3 separate regions of the Homo sapiens genome follow, and regions 2 and 3 are each linked to region 1. Evidence: promoter capture Hi-C in human tissues and cell types (Jung and others, 2019). All regions are on one chromosome and are shown on one strand. Each heading gives the region's core, a stretch centred on a gene start or on the middle of the fragment in contact. The rest is flanking DNA. Distances are from core to core; before and after follow the strand shown.

Region 1 (2,791 bases), core at 76-2,575:
AGCTGGGACTACAGGCGCGCGCCACCACGCCCGGCTAGTTTTTTGTATTTTAGTAGAGACGGGGTTTCACCGTGTTGCCCAGGCTGGTCTCGAAGTCCTGAGCTCAGGCAATCCGCCCACCTCGGCCTCCTAAAGTGCTGGGATTACAGGTGTGAGCCACCGCGCCAGGCCCACTCCTATTTTTAGCTCCAGAGATTAGTTTTGCTTCAGGCTCCCTTAACGTCCTGCTTCAAACCCCTATCTGCCCCTTCATCGGCTCCACCTGGAGGCCACCGCTTCCACGGAAGCATGACCCCTTCCCCTGCACCCGCGCGCCCCAGAAGCTCTCAGATACCCCCACGATTTCGGTGACCTTCCGCAAGCTCCAGGAAAAGCCCCTCCTCTCCTGACGCCAAGGGTTTGTTGGGGTTGGGGGGTATCTCCATCAGCCTCCCTCCCCCAGCCACCCAAATTAACCAACAATCTTAGTAAATGCAGCGACTCGCTAGGCAAACCCAGCCTGGAGACAAATATCCGGCCCCTTTCCTACCAAACTGTCACACCTAGGCATTGGTCTGCAGGGAGGGCTGGACAGTGGAAACTGAAACCCTCTGCAAGCCATCACGAATCCACCGGGCACTGGGGACGCTGGCTCCCGCCTTGGCAGCATCCCCCAGAAGCCTGGGCCCTGACCCCACACCGTCTGGGCCTCAGTCTCTCATCGGTAAAGTCAGGGGTAGGGCCCGAGTCTTCCAGGACCGCTTCGAGCTGGGACAAGCCGTTTTAAATAGCCCACAACCCGCCGAGGCCATCAGAGCTGCGCCTGCCGGGCCGCCCTCGACCCCCACCTCGGCCGGGCAGGTCCGAGGCCCCGCAGGCAACATGGGCCCGCGGACTGCGGGACGGGGCTCGACGGCCTGAGATCGCGACTCTGCCTCTCCGATACTTGGGGTCGTCTTCGGCCCCGGGATCCGCGACGCGCGCGGTCGGACCCCGAATACTGAAGGCACCGGGTCCGCAGGGCGAAGGCGCACACGCCCACCAGGCGCGCTCTGCGCATGCGCGGGCTCCGCAATCTCAGCGGCCCACTCGCCCCGCCCCGCCCCCCCCACCCCCACCCCGCGCCGCTCCCCAGGCCCGGCCCTGCCTTCCCAGCATCCCGGCTCCCTACGGCAAGCGGCGAGGCCCGAGCCCGCCGGGAGCAGGGAGCCGGGCGCGGGGCGGGGCGGCGCGCTGAGGTCAGCGCGGCGGCGGCCGGCCCCGTAGTGGTTGGCTGCGCTGGTGCTGGCCGCGCCCTGGTTGGCTGCGGGCCGCGGGGCTGGGCCGCCGGGTCGGGGCTGGGGTCGGGCTCGGGCGCCGGCCGGGCTTGCGCAGCGCTAGGCTCCTCGCCGCTCCTAGTCTGCGGCGGCGGCGGCGGGGAGGGCGCGGCCGCGGGCGGGGCTGAGGGCGGCGGGGGCGGGCCGCCCGAGCTGGGAGGGCGGCGGCGCCGAGGGGAGGAGAGCGGCCCATGGACCCGCGGGGCCCGGCGCCCCAGACTCTGCGCCGTCGGGACGGAGCCCAAGATGTCGGCCTAGGCCGGGGCGCGACGACGCGGACGGGGCGGCGAGGAGGCGCCGCTGCTGCCGGGGCTCGCAGCCGCCGAGCCCCCGAGGGCGCGCCCTGACGGACTGGCCGAGCCGGCGGTGAGAGGCCGGCGCGTCGGGAGCGGGCCGCGCGGCACCATGTCGGCCAAGGTGCGGCTCAAGAAGCTGGAGCAGCTGCTCCTGGACGGGCCCTGGCGCAACGAGAGCGCCCTGAGCGTGGAAACGCTGCTCGACGTGCTCGTCTGCCTGTACACCGAGTGCAGCCACTCGGCCCTGCGCCGCGACAAGTACGTGGCCGAGTTCCTCGAGTGGGGTAAGTGCGCGCCGGCAGGGCCGGACCTGCGGCTCTGCGACCCCCGCGCCCCAGCCCGCGCATCCCCACGCCCGCCCATCCCCGCCCGGACAGACCCTGCCGCCCTCCTGCCCACCCAGCTCGTGGGCTTCGCCTCCTCTCGCTCTGGCAGCGCCCCCAGGCCCGCAGCCCATCTCTCTCCAGCCGCTCCTTGCACCCTCGTCCCTCCGCTAGCTTTTCATCCCTCCTTGCCCTCCCTAGGCTCGACATCCGCGTTCGATCGTCCCGCCCCCTCATCCTGCCCCTTGGAGCCACATCCTACGTTCCCACTCCCACCCCCTCCCCCCCGCCGGGCCCTCGCCCTGGCGGCTTCCTAGATCCACCCTCCGAGTCTGGATATCATTTCCTGCAGCACTCACTGGGATATCCGCCCCCGCCCCCGCCCCCGCCCCCGCACCTCGCCTTTGGGGTCCGGAGGCAGTGTGGAATTAGTTCCCTTTCCCCACCCCACGCTTCTCTGCGTTGTGGGGGCAGCTGGGTGTGCTTTCTGCATCTGCCTCGCCCACTGCCCCGTGGGACCCCCTTGCATCCCCAGGGAGCCCAGCTCTAACGGCCCCTCCTGGGTGACAGCCTGTCTACATCCCCTTGTTGGTCAGAGCCTGAATACCTACTTTGCTGTAACACCTTCAAGGGAATTTTAAGGTTAAGGCTTTATTTTAAATAAACCGTGCAAGAGGACTTTTTTTTTTTAATTCCAATTCTGCTAGACCTTTGTGATATTTGGAGGGGTAGCTGGAGCTATCACTTAGAAACTTTCTCATCTGAATTTTGCATGCCTTCTCTAGTTCGTTCCGGATCTATAATGTTTTAATCATTGGTCAGCTAACCTATTATGCTTTTTTAGGACAAAAATTTGATTAAACCATTTAACGATAAT
Region 2 (2,980 bases), core at 398-2,897, 220 kb before region 1:
GTCTATGTTAGTCTGTTCTCACGCTACTATGAAGAAATACCCGAGACTGCGTAATTTATAAAGGAAAAAGGTTTAACTGACTCACAGTTCCGCAGGGCTGGGCAGGCCTCAGGAAACTTACGATCATGGTGGAAGGAGAAGCAAACAAGTCCTTCTTCACATGGGGGCAGGAAGAAGTGCTGAGCAAAAGGGGGGGAAACCCCTTATAAAAGCATCAGCTCTTGTGAGAACTCATTGACTATCCTGAGAACAGCAGCATGGAGGTAACCGCCCCCATGATTCAATTACCTCCCACTGGGTCCCTCCCATGACACACAGGGATCATGGGAACTACAATTCAAGATGAGATTTGGGTGGGGACACGGCCAAACCACACCACCATCTCTACAAAAAATACAAAATTAGTTGGGCATGGTGGTGCATGCCTGTGGTCCTAGCTACTCAGGAGGCTGAGGTGGGAGGATCACCTGAGCCCAGGGAGGTCAAGTCAGCAGTGAGCTGTCATTGTGCCACTGTACTCCAGCAGCCTAGACGACAGCCTAGGCTGTCTCGAAAAAAAAAAAAAAAAAAAAAAAGGAAGAAAAATATCCAGTAAATTAATTCCAAATAAAGTAGAAGAAAGTAAATAACAATTAGCTGGACAAGGTGGTATGCATTTGTAGTCCCAGTCCCAGCTACTCTGGAGGCTGGGGTGGGAGGATTTCTTGAGCCCAGGATGTCAAAGCTGCACTGAGCTGAGATTCTGATACTGCACTCCAGCCTGGGCAATGGAGCAAGACCCTGTCTCTAGCAAGAAAAAAAAAAAAAAAAAAAAAGAAAAGAAAAGAAAAAATAAAATAAAGCACAAATTATTTGAAAACAAGAACAGAGAGGATCAACAAAGCCAGATGTTGGGTCTTTGAAAATTTAGATGAAAAGAAAAAACTCCTAAAATATATAACTAATTAAGCTAAAATTAAAGTAACAGATCAGAATAGTTCCATATCTATTAAATACATTGAGTATATAATTAAAAACTTCCCACATGAAAGCTGTAGGTTCCAATGTCTTCTCTGATTAATTGTAACAAACATTTAAGGGAGAAAAAAAGAGTTCATTTTACAAAAAAGAAAAGACCTCTCTCAGAGACTAGAAAAAGAGGGAACTTGTTTTATGAGAGCAGGGTAACCTTGCTATCAATCAGACAAGGACATCATGAAAAAGGAAATTTACAGGCCAGTCTCACATACACTCACACATTCACAGGTGTGAAAATCCTAAATAAAATAAATTCAGTGTTAAATTAAAAAAGATAACACACTACGATTAAGTGGACTTTAACACAGGGATGTAAGATTAACTTAATATGCTAAAAATAAATTTAAATGGTCATGTAAAAGAATAGAAAAGAAAAATCATATGACCATCTGAGTAGCTGTGGGAAAAGCATTTGATAAAATTCAACATCCATTCATGACAAAAAGACTGTTAGCCACCTGGGAATAAAAGAAAATGTCCTCAGTCTATTTAAGATAGATACAGGAAGTTTCTAGTAAATATCATACCGTACATAATAAATATTATACACACTTTTGTCAAGTTTCCCACTATCTCCACTTCTACTTAACGCTGCACTGAGGTTTTCAACAATGTGACTAAGGCCAGGAAAAGAAACAAAAGGCATAATACTCTCATTATGTAGCTGATATATGTTCATTGAAAATATAAAAATGTCTAATAATTTTTTCTTTTTACATTTTCTTTTTCTTTCTTCTTTGTTTTTTAATCATCTAACCAGGTGAAAAATCTAGTATTTCTTTTTTTTCTTGAGACAGAGAGTCTTGCTGTGTCACACAGGCTGGAGCACAGTGGCACGATCATAGCTCACTGCAACCTCGACCTCCTTGGCTCAAGTGATCTTCTCGTCTCAGCCTCCAAAGTAGCTGGAACCACAGCCGTGTGCCACCAGGCTTGGCTAACTTAATTTTTTTTTTTTTTTTTTTTTGTAGAGACTGAGTCTCACTATGTTGTTCAGGCCAGTCTGGAACTCCTGGGCTCAAGCAGTCCTCCCACCTTGGCCTCCCAAAGTGCTGAGATTACAGGCATGAGCCACTGTGCCTGGCATAAATTGTTAAAATGAATAAGAGAGTTTAACAAGGTTGCTGGTTACAAAGCCAACACATAAAAATCATTTGCAACTCTATAGACCAACAATACAAAAATAACAAGCAAGAGCAAAATAAAAATGCATTTTAATAGCATCAAAAGACAGCAAATACCTAGGTAACAATCTAACAAAAGATGTACATGACTTCTATGCAGAAAACTATGAGACATTATTGTGATAGATTAAAGAGAAACAGACAAACATGTTCATGGATTAAAAGACTCAATATTTAAAATATGTTAATTTTTCTGAAACCAATTTGCTTCAATGTAATCCTAATCAAATTCTGGCAAGTATTTTGATTGCAGTCCATCAAGCTGATTCTAAAGCTTGTATAGAGATGCATAGGACCAAAGTTAGGCAAAATATTCTTTAAAAAGAATAATAAGGTGGGAAGATTTTGGTCCACCAGAGGCATCAAGATTTACAATAAAGTTATAAGATTTACAATAAAGCGACAGCAAATAGTGTAGAAAGACAGACAAATAGAACAGAGAGGGCACTGCCTAATGATGGTAGGGGAAGAATGGTCCTTTCAACAAATGTAATAGGATGGTTGATCAACAGATGGTGGACACAAAGAAAACTTAATATACAAAAACAAAATCCAGATATATGGTAGCTCTAGCTGCAAAAGGCAAAGCAACAAGGGTTAGAGAAGATAACATAACAGAAGATTTTCATGAACTCTGGGAAGAGAAGTGCTTATTACATAGACCATAGCATTGATCATAAAGGAAAGGATAATACATTTGATTATGTTAACACTGAGAGTTTCTCTTAATCAAAAGACACCATTGACAGAGTAAAAAGGCAAACTGCACAGTTGGAGAA
Region 3 (2,900 bases), core at 361-2,860, 250 kb before region 1:
GATGGGGTTTCACCATGTTGCCCAGGCTGGTCTCAAACTCCTGACCTCAAGTGACCCGCCCACCTTGGCCTCCCAAAGTGCTGGGATTACAGGCGTGAGCCACCACACCCAGCCTTCCTTGGTTATTTAAATGATGGGCAAGCAGGCCCCAGGATGAGCACACAGGGCTTTCGCTGCTAAAACCAGGACGAGCTGGTTGTGCTAGTGGGCCCCACTGGACCAGGAGACGTTTCAGCTTAGAAAGCAGCTGCACATCTTGGAGAGACTCTGGGCAGAGCTGTGAAGGAGACCGGCCTGGATGGGTTGCCTGACCCCCCGGCACCCTGGCTGGAGCTGGGTAAGGGCATGTAGGGGCCTGTCATCAAGCCTGGCCCTGGGGACCACTGTGGTGGCCTGGCAGAGAAGGCAGTGCCTTCCATGGCTTCCCCAGCCTTCCTATGGCATCCACTCTTGGCCTTCTTGGGCACCTGCCAGCCTTGGTTTCTCACAAACTTTTCTGCTGCCATTGCCTGGGGAAGGAGGTACCCAAAAACATGGCACTGATGGAGCTTTAACTTCAGGGATTCTGGCAGTTTTTGCTGGGATCCCCATTTGTCAGCTGCTGTGCTGGGGAGGGAACAGCCCCCCACCAGTAGTTGTCCTAAGATCAAGGCCTGTGCCTTGATGGACAGGAGCTGGGATTCCATCTACCCTCAGACTGACCTTCTCAAGGCCGGTTGACTGAGTGGTGTTGATAAGACCCGCCTTGGAGCCTCCCTGGGGGCCTGAGCTCCTCTCCCTCTGGACCACCTGCTGGGCTAGGACTGGGTCTCAGGCTCTGGGGCAGCCAGGATAGACCGGCCGGTGGGGCTTCTGCTATTCCCAGTGTGGAGGTGGACACGTTCCATGCCAGGGCCTGACTAGGGCATGTCATTTGCACTCCCAGTTGTGCAGAGTGACAGCTGCATTGCTGAAGCATTCTCCTGTTCTCGTTTCTGAAGAAAAGTATTATGGAGAGGTCCGACATTCACAGGAGCAGAGCAAACAGCAGCACTCACGGCAACCACTCGGCCTTGCCAGCCACCCTCGCTTTGCCCAGCATCTCAACAAAGCATCCTGGTCATTTATTTTCCTTCCCTCCTTCCTTCCTTCCTTCCTTCCTTCCTTCCTTCCTTCCTTCCTTCCTTCTTTCCTTCCTTCCTTCTTTCCTTCCTTCCTTCTTTCCTTCCTTCCCTTCCTCCCTCCCTTCCTCTTTCTCTCTTTTTTCTTTCTTCTTTCTTTTTTCTTTCTTTCTTCTTTCTTTCTTTCTCTTTTCTTTCTGTTCTTTCTCTCTCTCTTCTTTCTTTCTCTCTCTTTCTTCTTTCTTTCTTTCTCTCTCTCTCTCTCTCCTTCCTTCCTTCCTTCCCTCCTTCCCTCCCTCCTTCCCTCCCTCCCTTCCTCCCTCCCTTCCTCCCTTCCTCTTTCTTTCTCTCTCTCTTTTTCTTTCAAGAGAGGATCTTACTCTGTCACTGAGGCTGGAGCATGGTGGCATGATCATGGCTCATTGCAGCCTCTACCTCCCAGTCTTAAGTGATCCTTCCACCTCAGCCTCTTGTGTAGCTGCGACTACAGGCACTTGCCACTGTGCTTCGCTAATTTTTGTATTATTAGTAGAGACAAGGTTTTGCTATGTTGCCCAGGCTGGTTTCAAACTCCTGAGGTCAAACAATCCTCCCACCTCGGCCTTCCAAAGTCCTGAGATTACAGGCATGAGCCACCACGCCCAGCCCAAAGAAGGTCATTTTCCCTTTCTTTCTTTCTTTCTTTCTTTCTTTCTTTCTTTCTTTCTTTCTTTCTTTCTTTCTCTCTCTCTCTCTCTTTCTTTCTTTCTTTCTTTCCTTCTCTCTCTCTCTCCCTCCCTCCCTCCTTTCCTTCCTTCCTTCCTTCTTTCCTCTCTTTCTTTTTAAGAGACAGGGCCTCCCTATGTTGCCCAAGCTGGTCTCATACTCCTGGACTCCAGGGATCTTCCTGCCTCAGCCTCCCAAAGTGCTAGGATTACAGGCATGAGCCACCACGCCTGGCCAAGGTCATTTTCTTAAGTAACTAAAGGGCCCCTGTTACACCTTACAGCATCGACAGCAATTGCTTCCCCCTCAGCGTCACCACTGGCTCTGTGGGTCCAAAGGACCCTTTACATTTTCAACGTTTAAGTCATTTTAGAAATACAGGCAAACCTCATTTGATTGCATTTCACTTAATTGCATCTTGCAGATATTGTTTTAATGTTTAAACAAATTCAAGGTCTGTGAGCAAATCTATCATTTTTTCCCCAACAACATGTGCTCACTTCATGTCTGTCTTGTCACGTTTTGCTAATTCTTACAGTATTTCCAACTTTTTCATTAGAATTATATCTGTTACGATGATCTGTGATGTTACCATCATCACTGTTTTGGGGGACCACAAACCGTGTTCTTCTGAGATAGTGAACTTAATGGATAAACGTTGTGTGTTCTGAGTGCTCCTCAGACCGGCCGCTCCCCCATCTCTCTCCAACTCCTCAGGCCTCCTTAAGCCAAGATAGGCCAAAAGCTAGGTCTCTTGCGACAGACAGCCAAGTTGTGAACACAAAGGAATAGTTCTTGAAGGAAATTTAAATGTGCTACTCCGGTGAACACATGGATGATGAGAAAGTGAAACACCCTCACTGCTGCTATGGAGGGAGTTGGAGTCTGGATAGATCAAACCAAACACAACATTCCCTTAAGCCAAAGCCTCATCCAGAGCATGGCCCTCACTCTCTTCAATTCTGTGAAGGCTGAGAGAGGTGAGGGAGATGCAGAAGAAAAGTTGAAAGCCACCAGAGGTTGGTTCATAGAAAGAGGGCTTTCATAGCTAGAGAGGAGAAGTCAATGTCTGGCTTCAGAGCTTCAAAGCACAGG

What was found. The method cuts DNA at HindIII sites, captures the fragments that hold promoters and counts their contacts. A contact is called where the count stands out against the background at its distance.
Region 2: a contact is called between a fragment that was not itself captured here and the fragment with the promoter of CDC42BPB in region 1, in 1 of the 25 tissues and cell types used here (lymphoblastoid cells).
Region 3: a contact is called between a fragment that was not itself captured here and the fragment with the promoter of CDC42BPB in region 1, in 1 of the 25 tissues and cell types used here (dorsolateral prefrontal cortex).

Annotation. Positions count from the first base shown.
Region 1 is chr14:103,056,083-103,058,873 of GRCh38, reverse strand. It overlaps CDC42BPB (CDC42 binding protein kinase beta), which reads left to right and starts at 1,325. Exons shown (of 37, transcript NM_006035.4): 1 at 1,325-1,875. The coding sequence starts at 1,701. RefSeq lists an enhancer at 188-838 and silencers at 834-943, 984-1,483, 1,574-1,653. The HindIII fragment of the contact is 24,533 bases long and covers 1-2,791 here.
Region 2 is chr14:103,275,303-103,278,282 of GRCh38, reverse strand. No RefSeq gene overlaps it. Among named protein-coding and RNA genes, the nearest start is that of EIF5, 57 kb to the left of the region's middle. The HindIII fragment of the contact is 6,253 bases long and covers 1-2,980 here.
Region 3 is chr14:103,307,271-103,310,170 of GRCh38, reverse strand. The region is part of intron 1 of LOC105370686 (a long non-coding RNA gene); the gene reads left to right. Among named protein-coding and RNA genes, the nearest start is that of EIF5, 26 kb to the left of the region's middle. The HindIII fragment of the contact is 5,149 bases long and covers 1-2,900 here.